Linked DNA regions of Homo sapiens: region 1 is linked to region 2. The links are contacts of gene promoters, found by promoter capture Hi-C in blood cells and fetal thymus (Javierre and others, 2016). All regions are on one chromosome and are shown on one strand. Each heading gives the region's core, a stretch centred on a gene start or on the middle of the fragment in contact. The rest is flanking DNA. Distances are from core to core; before and after follow the strand shown.

What was found. The method cuts DNA at HindIII sites, captures the fragments that hold promoters and counts their contacts. A CHiCAGO score of 5 or more calls a contact.
Region 1: a fragment that was not itself captured here is called in contact with the fragment with the promoter of PLPP5 in region 2 in 2 of 17 cell types (activated CD4 T cells and naive CD8 T cells); the score reaches 5.4 in activated CD4 T cells.

Annotation. Positions count from the first base shown.
Region 1 is chr8:38,440,415-38,443,804 of GRCh38, reverse strand. All of the region lies in intron 2 of FGFR1 (fibroblast growth factor receptor 1), which reads left to right. Among named protein-coding and RNA genes, the nearest start is that of FGFR1, 27 kb to the left of the region's middle. RefSeq lists enhancers at 1-212, 213-1,003, 1,004-1,794, 1,795-2,585, 2,586-3,375. The HindIII fragment of the contact is 850 bases long and covers 1,716-2,565 here.
Region 2 is chr8:38,266,898-38,270,474 of GRCh38, reverse strand. PLPP5 (phospholipid phosphatase 5) reads left to right here and starts at 1,251. Exons shown (of 7, transcript NM_001102559.2): 1 at 1,251-1,349; 2 at 1,485-1,593; 3 at 2,014-2,104; 4 at 2,515-2,578; 5 at 3,084-3,208. The coding sequence starts at 1,276. It overlaps NSD3 (nuclear receptor binding SET domain protein 3), which reads left to right. Exons shown (of 24, transcript NM_023034.2): 24 at 1-771. It also overlaps a transcript of DDHD2 not described here. RefSeq lists a silencer at 1,053-1,532. The HindIII fragment of the contact is 3,801 bases long and covers 563-3,577 here.

The sequences.
Region 1 (3,390 bases), core at 891-3,390, 170 kb before region 2:
TGGGTTTACAGGCGTGAGCCACCGAGCCCAGCGCCATCTAATTCTTTTGTTGTGGTAAAATATATGTAACATAAAATTAACCATTTTAACTATTTTTATTTTTTTAAGTTAAATTGATTATGTAATGTTTTTGAGACAGGGTCACACTTTGTCACCCAGGCTGGAGTGCAGTGTTGCTATCTCAGCTCACTGCAGCCTCGACCTCCCGGGCTCAAGAGATCCTCCCACCTCAGCCTCCCAAGTAGCTGGGACCACAGGTGCACGCTACCATGCCTGGCTAATTTTGTTTTTCTTTTTTTTTTTTTTTTGTAGAGATGAGGTCTCACTTTGTTGCTCAGGCTGATCTCTAACCCCTGGACTCAAACAATCCTCTCACCTCAGCCTCCCGAAGTATTGGAGTTAAGAGATGTGAGCCACTGTGCCCGGCCAATTTTTAAATTTGTAATTGATGCATAATGGTTATGTATAATCGTCGGGTACGGTATGATGTTTTGATCCACGCACACATTATGTAACGACCAAATCATGGTAATTGCTGTATTGTATCCATCACTTTAAATATTTATCATTTCTTTGTGGTGCATTTTCACCAATTTTAAGTGCACAGTTTTGTAGCATAAAATTTATTCACGCTGTGTAGCCATCACCACCATCCATTTCACCTTCCCTGACACCTTACCTGTTCAACGCTAACTCCCCCTTCTCCCCTCTTCCAGCCCCTTGGTAACCACTATTCTACAGCTTTTCATTTTCAAAGGATGTTTTATTGTCTTTAGTCTCATCGTGTGAAACCTTAAGAGAATTTCTTTACGGTGGAGAAAAAGTAACTTTATGAAGCCCATTCCTTTCTCTACTCTGGAGAGGCTGGTGACCCAGCCCCACCATTGCAGGAATGAGACGGGATTGCGGGGATATGGCAGGCACTTGGGGTGCTGAGAGTCCAGGTGAACTGTGAGCTCAAGCACCCATGTCGGGCTTGGGGGACCAGAAGACACATCCTGAAACAGCTGAAGCCTCTACTAATTCATCAGCAAGTTTAGGGAGCGGCAACTTTTCCCTGCCCAGCTGCTGGCGTTTCCTTCCCCATACAATTTCTGCTGAGTTTGGGGGAGGGGAGGTTGTTCGAGAGGCCCCAGCTGGGAGAGGTGGGGGGAGGGCGATACATTCTTTTCCTTAAGGAACCTGACCGAACTTTAAGGTCAGAGCTCAGTGGAGAGTGGGAGCTGCAGGGTTACCTCTTTGCCGTTGATTCATCTCTCCACCCTCCCCCACTCTTAATGATCTTTCCATTACAGAACCCAGACCAGGAAGTGCATGACAGGTCGCAGCTGCAGACACATGGCTGGGAGGCCTGGGCTCCGGGCCAGTGGTGGGAGAGTCTGAGCTCCCCTCCAGCAGTGGGACCCCTGCACACACACACACACACACACACACACACACACCACTTTAACAACTTGGTGGAAGATGTTCTTTCTTATGCACTGTCACAGGTGATGACGAGTTGGACTTTGCTTTGAGTTTAGGATGTGATTTATATTATAATAAAGGCAGGAGAAGACACTCCCCCTGCCCCGGTCCAACCTGAGTGTTTAGATCCCCCCAACTTACAGTCCACCTAAGTGGTCCTTACCAGATCCTGGGAGCTTTCTATTATCGTGCAGATGCCCCAACTTCTTTTCCCAAAATAGGACCCACCCAATATGGCCTTAGAAGCTTCCCAGGGTATCCGGGGCAGTTGCTAGTCACAGTCTTAATGTCTCCGAAATAGTATGTTTTCCTCTCTATGTTTCTATTAAAATGTCAGCCCCAAAACATGTTTCTGGGTGGAGGTCTAGGTGCAACAGCACAGCCTTTGCAAACACAGATAGACTTGGGTTCAAGTCATAATAGATGAGTTGAGCCTCTCATTTTTCAGTCTTCATTGGGGATGGCTCTTTCCATTTGCAAGTTGTTCAGGAAATGTTAATTGACCCTAAACTGTGTCCTAGGGGGCAGTTGTCACACAGGAGTTTCTGTCTTCACCACCAGCTGTGTCCTTGGCTTCCTTCCCTGAATCTGCCAAGGCTGGATTCTGGTGCTAAATGTGAAATGGTGACACAAACTTCTAGGAACTGTGAGCTTGGACGGCCCTCCTCCATAGCCGCAGGGCATCTACCTTTGCTCTTCTTGGATGAGTGAATGAACTTCCCTCTTTCCAGAGCAATGCTTTCTTCCTGTTTAGATAGGAGGGAGAGAAGCAAAGTGTATTGGGAATAGGTTGAGCGAAAGAGTGTAGTAAGAGTTTTCTGTACAGCTCTGTCCTTAATGTATCAGTAAACAATAGGGTGAGAACTTTTGCTGGGGAGAGAGGAAGGAGGGAAATTTCTTTTCAGACAACTCTTGGGTGCATTCCTTTGTTAATCACTTAATTACAGCCCTTCTCCCAGTGAGGTAGTGAACTCCCCATTGTGAGAGGTAGGGAGGAGGTGGGGGACACTGGTGCTGATTGGAGAAAGGTGGCAAAATCCCTAGGGGAAAAAAGTACAGATTTGAAGGAGGCATCAGATGAATCCGTGCATAGAAGCTTGAGCCCCAAACTCAGTTCTCAGGCTGCGTTATCCTTTACGACACCCAGAGTCCCTCTGTCTTTTAAGATCCACACACAACTCTCCAGGCCAATAGCTCTTGGCGCCTGCGATTCCCAAGTGGGATTCTACACGTGTCTTGCTGCCCAGCTCGGGGGGATCTGTTTTTGGGGGGTCTCGGGGCGGGTGCAGGGTCCTGGCTGTGGCTTTGGCTAGTGCAGGCGGCTCGGCACTAAATTACAGTGACGAGGTGGGACGCACAAAAGGCCGAAATCTTTTTTTAATAAAAACAAAACAAAACTCTGGGCCCCAAGCCCCTGGGCTGCTGAATGGCCATGGCTTCCTGTCAGGATTAGCCGGGCTGCCTGGGCCTGTGTGCTCGGCCTTTCTCCTCAGGAAATACCTTTAGTAAGCCCCGGTGGGGTCCCCATGGCAACGCACGGGGGGACCTGCTGGCAGAGGCCATTCAGTCTGCCATTGTCCCCCGGCCCCTTTGTTGTGAGCTTTATTGCCGGCCCTCTGGCAAACACAGCAGTTTGCACCGTTTTGTCAGGCTGAATGTGGAGTTTTTACATTTTAATGGGCTCTTCTGGCAGTGGCCCATTTGCATGCAAAATGTCCCCTCTTACTCTTTTCACTTTCTTCAATTTAAAAAAAAAAAAAAAGCCCTTCTCCAAATCCCCTGGGTCGGGGGGCTGGTGGACGCCATTGGCCCTGGGTGTCAGGCCCTGCTAATTGATTTGGTGCTCCCGGCTCTCTTTCCACACATACCTGTGCCCCCCATTTTTGCAGCTCTCCTTCTATTTGGGGACTCCGAGAGTTGAGA
Region 2 (3,577 bases), core at 2-2,501:
ATGAGTATTACAACTGGCTAATATCATTTTTTATATACAAGGGTATGTGTATATTTGGAATTGATATGAGAAACTCATTTGTACCCATTTGAGTGATATTGCACAACAAACACAGATACCTACAGACTCCGTTTTCATTTTCTCGTGTTCTTTATGATAATGATCTTTGTAGATTGGTTATTTCTGTACTTTATCTGTAATAAACTTTGTAGATCCTGTGAACCATTACTTTGCCTAAATCACTTGAGACTTGAGTCTTTAATAACAAAGCATCAATATTCACTAAAGTCAATCTCTTTTGAGTTTCTGTGACTTGGCTAGAAGCTCTTGACACTAAGGGATTAGTGTTAATTTTCCCTGGGGGTGTTCCACTAGGGCATTACTGTATAATGACTTGATGTTGCCACATAGACTTCAAGATATATAATATTTTGAGGATTTTGTTGATTGGCCTATGTTTTATTGCATAGTGTGAAACGTGTAAAGCTTGGTTAACCTGTATATAGATAGCTTATTGTTGACTAGTTATAGTGTATTTAGGGTTGCCTGTAATATTTAAGCTTCTTTACTGATGTGTGTGCTGGTAGGAACATATAATTTTTGTACATTATATTTACTGAGATGTTGCCTTTTTTATTTTACAAATACTTTGGAATTCCAATGTGTTTTTTGCTTCCGTGAGGATTAATTTGGAAAGGTTTTTAATGACATTCCACTGATTTCAGATTTTGCTTGAGATTGACTTCAATAAATTGTCCTGTATGTTCCAAATTAAATATGTGGGCTTGTTCTTTGCCAATAATTTTTTGCTACAACACTCTGGGCAGGAGGCCATCCTGGGTGGGAGGACTAAATGACACAATCCAGCCAACCTCAGGTAGTGTAGCTTCCTGCAGAATGCGGCTGTGTTGCTAAGGAACGAGGATCTGAGAGCGGGCTGTTTGGTTTTCCATTTAGAGGCGAGGTCCCGGGAGAAGGCTGCTCCCCGCGGTGGTGTGGTTGGGCCGTGGAGACGAGCTGCTGATGATGGACCGTACGCCGACCTACTCGGCTGGAACTGGGGCGCTGGCTCCCTGCTGAACGCACCAGAGGGCAGCTCCGCTGGCTTTGCGTACCCTTTGCCAGACGATGCCCTCGGCACAGCCGCCAGGCCGTCTTCCTGGGGAGCCGCCGGAGCGCGGGCAACTGGGAGAGGGGGCGGTGCCCAGTTCCCGGCCCGGCCCTCCCCGCGGAGGTGGCCACGTCAGCGCAGCGTCGCTCGGAGCTCGCGGCCGGATGGGGAAGGCGGCGGCGGCGGTGGCCTTTGGGGCCGAAGTGGGCGTGCGGCTCGCGCTGTTCGCGGCCTTCCTGTAAGAAAGATCCACGGCCGGGCCCGGGCGGCCCCGCTTCCCAGGCAGGCGGGCGGCACGGGGCGGCGGGTCGGGCAGTGGGGAAGCGGGGAGGAAGCCAGGCGACCTGCTCTGCGCTTCTTTGTTCCCCTCTAGGGTGACGGAGCTGCTCCCCCCGTTCCAGAGACTCATCCAGCCGGAGGAGATGTGGCTCTACCGGAACCCCTACGTGGAGGCGGAGTATTTCCCCACCAAGCCGATGTTTGTGCGTGGAGAAAGATCGTCTTTCCTCCCTCCCCATGACCCGGCTTCCCGCGGGCACCTGTGCGTTTTCCACCCCGAGACGGCCTTTGTAGGGACCCACTGCCCACTCCGCTGCTGTGCGCTGGGTTCCGCCTCCTAGGGCTCGAGTGTTTAAGATCCTGATTGAGAGAGGAGGGTGTCCGAGCCTCTTTGGGCTGAGACAACGTTTTCCCGGGCGCTCTGTGCCTCAGCCTGAGGTACCGGGGCCCGAGCCGCACGGGCGCTGCTGTTCACTGGTGGCGCTGCCTGGCGCCCGGTTACGCGCACTCAGAGACCTTATGTTAGCTCCAGTGAGTCCTGCTGTGTCACATCCCTCTTTCCTGTAGGAGCACGAGTGTGGCTTTTTTTTGGATTGTTTTTAACCTCTGACATTCTGATTCAGGTTATTGCATTTCTCTCTCCACTGTCTCTGATCTTCCTGGCCAAATTTCTCAAGAAGGCAGACACAAGAGACAGCAGACAAGCCTGCCTGGGTGAGCGCTAGCCCTTTCGGGCCGGTTTCTTCGTGCTGGGAACCTAGGAGGTCGTTGTGGGATTCAGCCACGGTGAGCCTGTGTGGAGGCCACTGAGTTCTGCATTCCTAAAGGAACTCTATCCCCGCGGGAGAGGAAAATAGCACTGCAGGGACTTGGTTACGCAGGCTACACGGCAGGCAGCCCTGTGCCTAAATGCACTGGGTTATTTGTACCTCAGAAATGTCTTTGGCCTAGTACAAAAGTTCTCGGCTACAAAAGAGTGATCACTGAGGACCCTAATTATTTTTGTGCCCAGGCCTGGTTGGATTCTATCCATCTCAGAAACAGCACGGCTGCTCTCATAACGAGGCCATGACCATACCTTTCCTCCTAGACAGATCCTTTCAACTAATGGCTTTGCTTTGCAGCTGCCAGCCTTGCCCTGGCTCTGAATGGCGTCTTTACCAACACAATAAAACTGATCGTAGGGAGGTAAGTGACAACAGCTAACCACCCCAGCATCTGCCTCAGCCCTTACCCACCAGAACAGAGAGGTTAATGGTGTCCACCACACGTCTTTCTCATTCTTTTCTCCTTTATCTTCACTCTGATTTTTCTTTTGTCATTCAACGCTTACTCCCTTCCCCATACCTCAGTCCTCCAGGTGACACCTGGGCTCTTTTCTGCCTGAACAGCATTTCCCACCAACGGCCACAGCAGTCGGTCAGTGTCCTCTTGAGCACCTCCTGAAGCTGCAGTGTCATTTGCTGTTTGCCCTAAAAAGTAATCATGTGCTGGAATGGGCGTTTTTCCCCTAATTTAAATGCTCACCTTGAAAGGCTTTTCTCTTAGTGTGGTGACTATACTAAGCCAGTTACCTTATTTTGCCTGGGGCACTATTTGACCAATAGTTAACAGGATTATTAATGTCTGCTACAACTGAAAAATAATTTCTGGAGTTAATGATTTACGTTCCAACCATGCTGCTTTCTTCCAGGCCACGCCCAGATTTCTTCTACCGCTGCTTCCCTGATGGGCTAGCCCATTCTGACTTGATGTGTACAGGGGATAAGGACGTGGTGAATGAGGGCCGAAAGAGCTTCCCCAGTGGACATTCTTCCTGTATGAATATCATATGGACTCTACCCTATGCTTGTTTTCACATCATTGAATTTAACCTAGAAAGCTAGTAGGGATGGGAAAATCTGACTACTCTTGTTTCTACAATTTGGAAAATCCCCCCTTCTTTAGTAACTCCACAGTTTAACAAGTCTGAGCCTTGACTATTTGGGTAAATATTACAGAACAGAAAGGTAGTTTACCTTCATGAGATTTGCACATTTAATTGTTATATTATTTGCCTAGATCCTGCAATCTTGTACTAGCAATAAAAATACCTTTAACGAAGAGTTTCTATGTGTCAGGTACTTTGAAGCATTTTCATTTCTTACCTAATTATAGCTCACAATAATCCAATGAGGTGGGGACTAT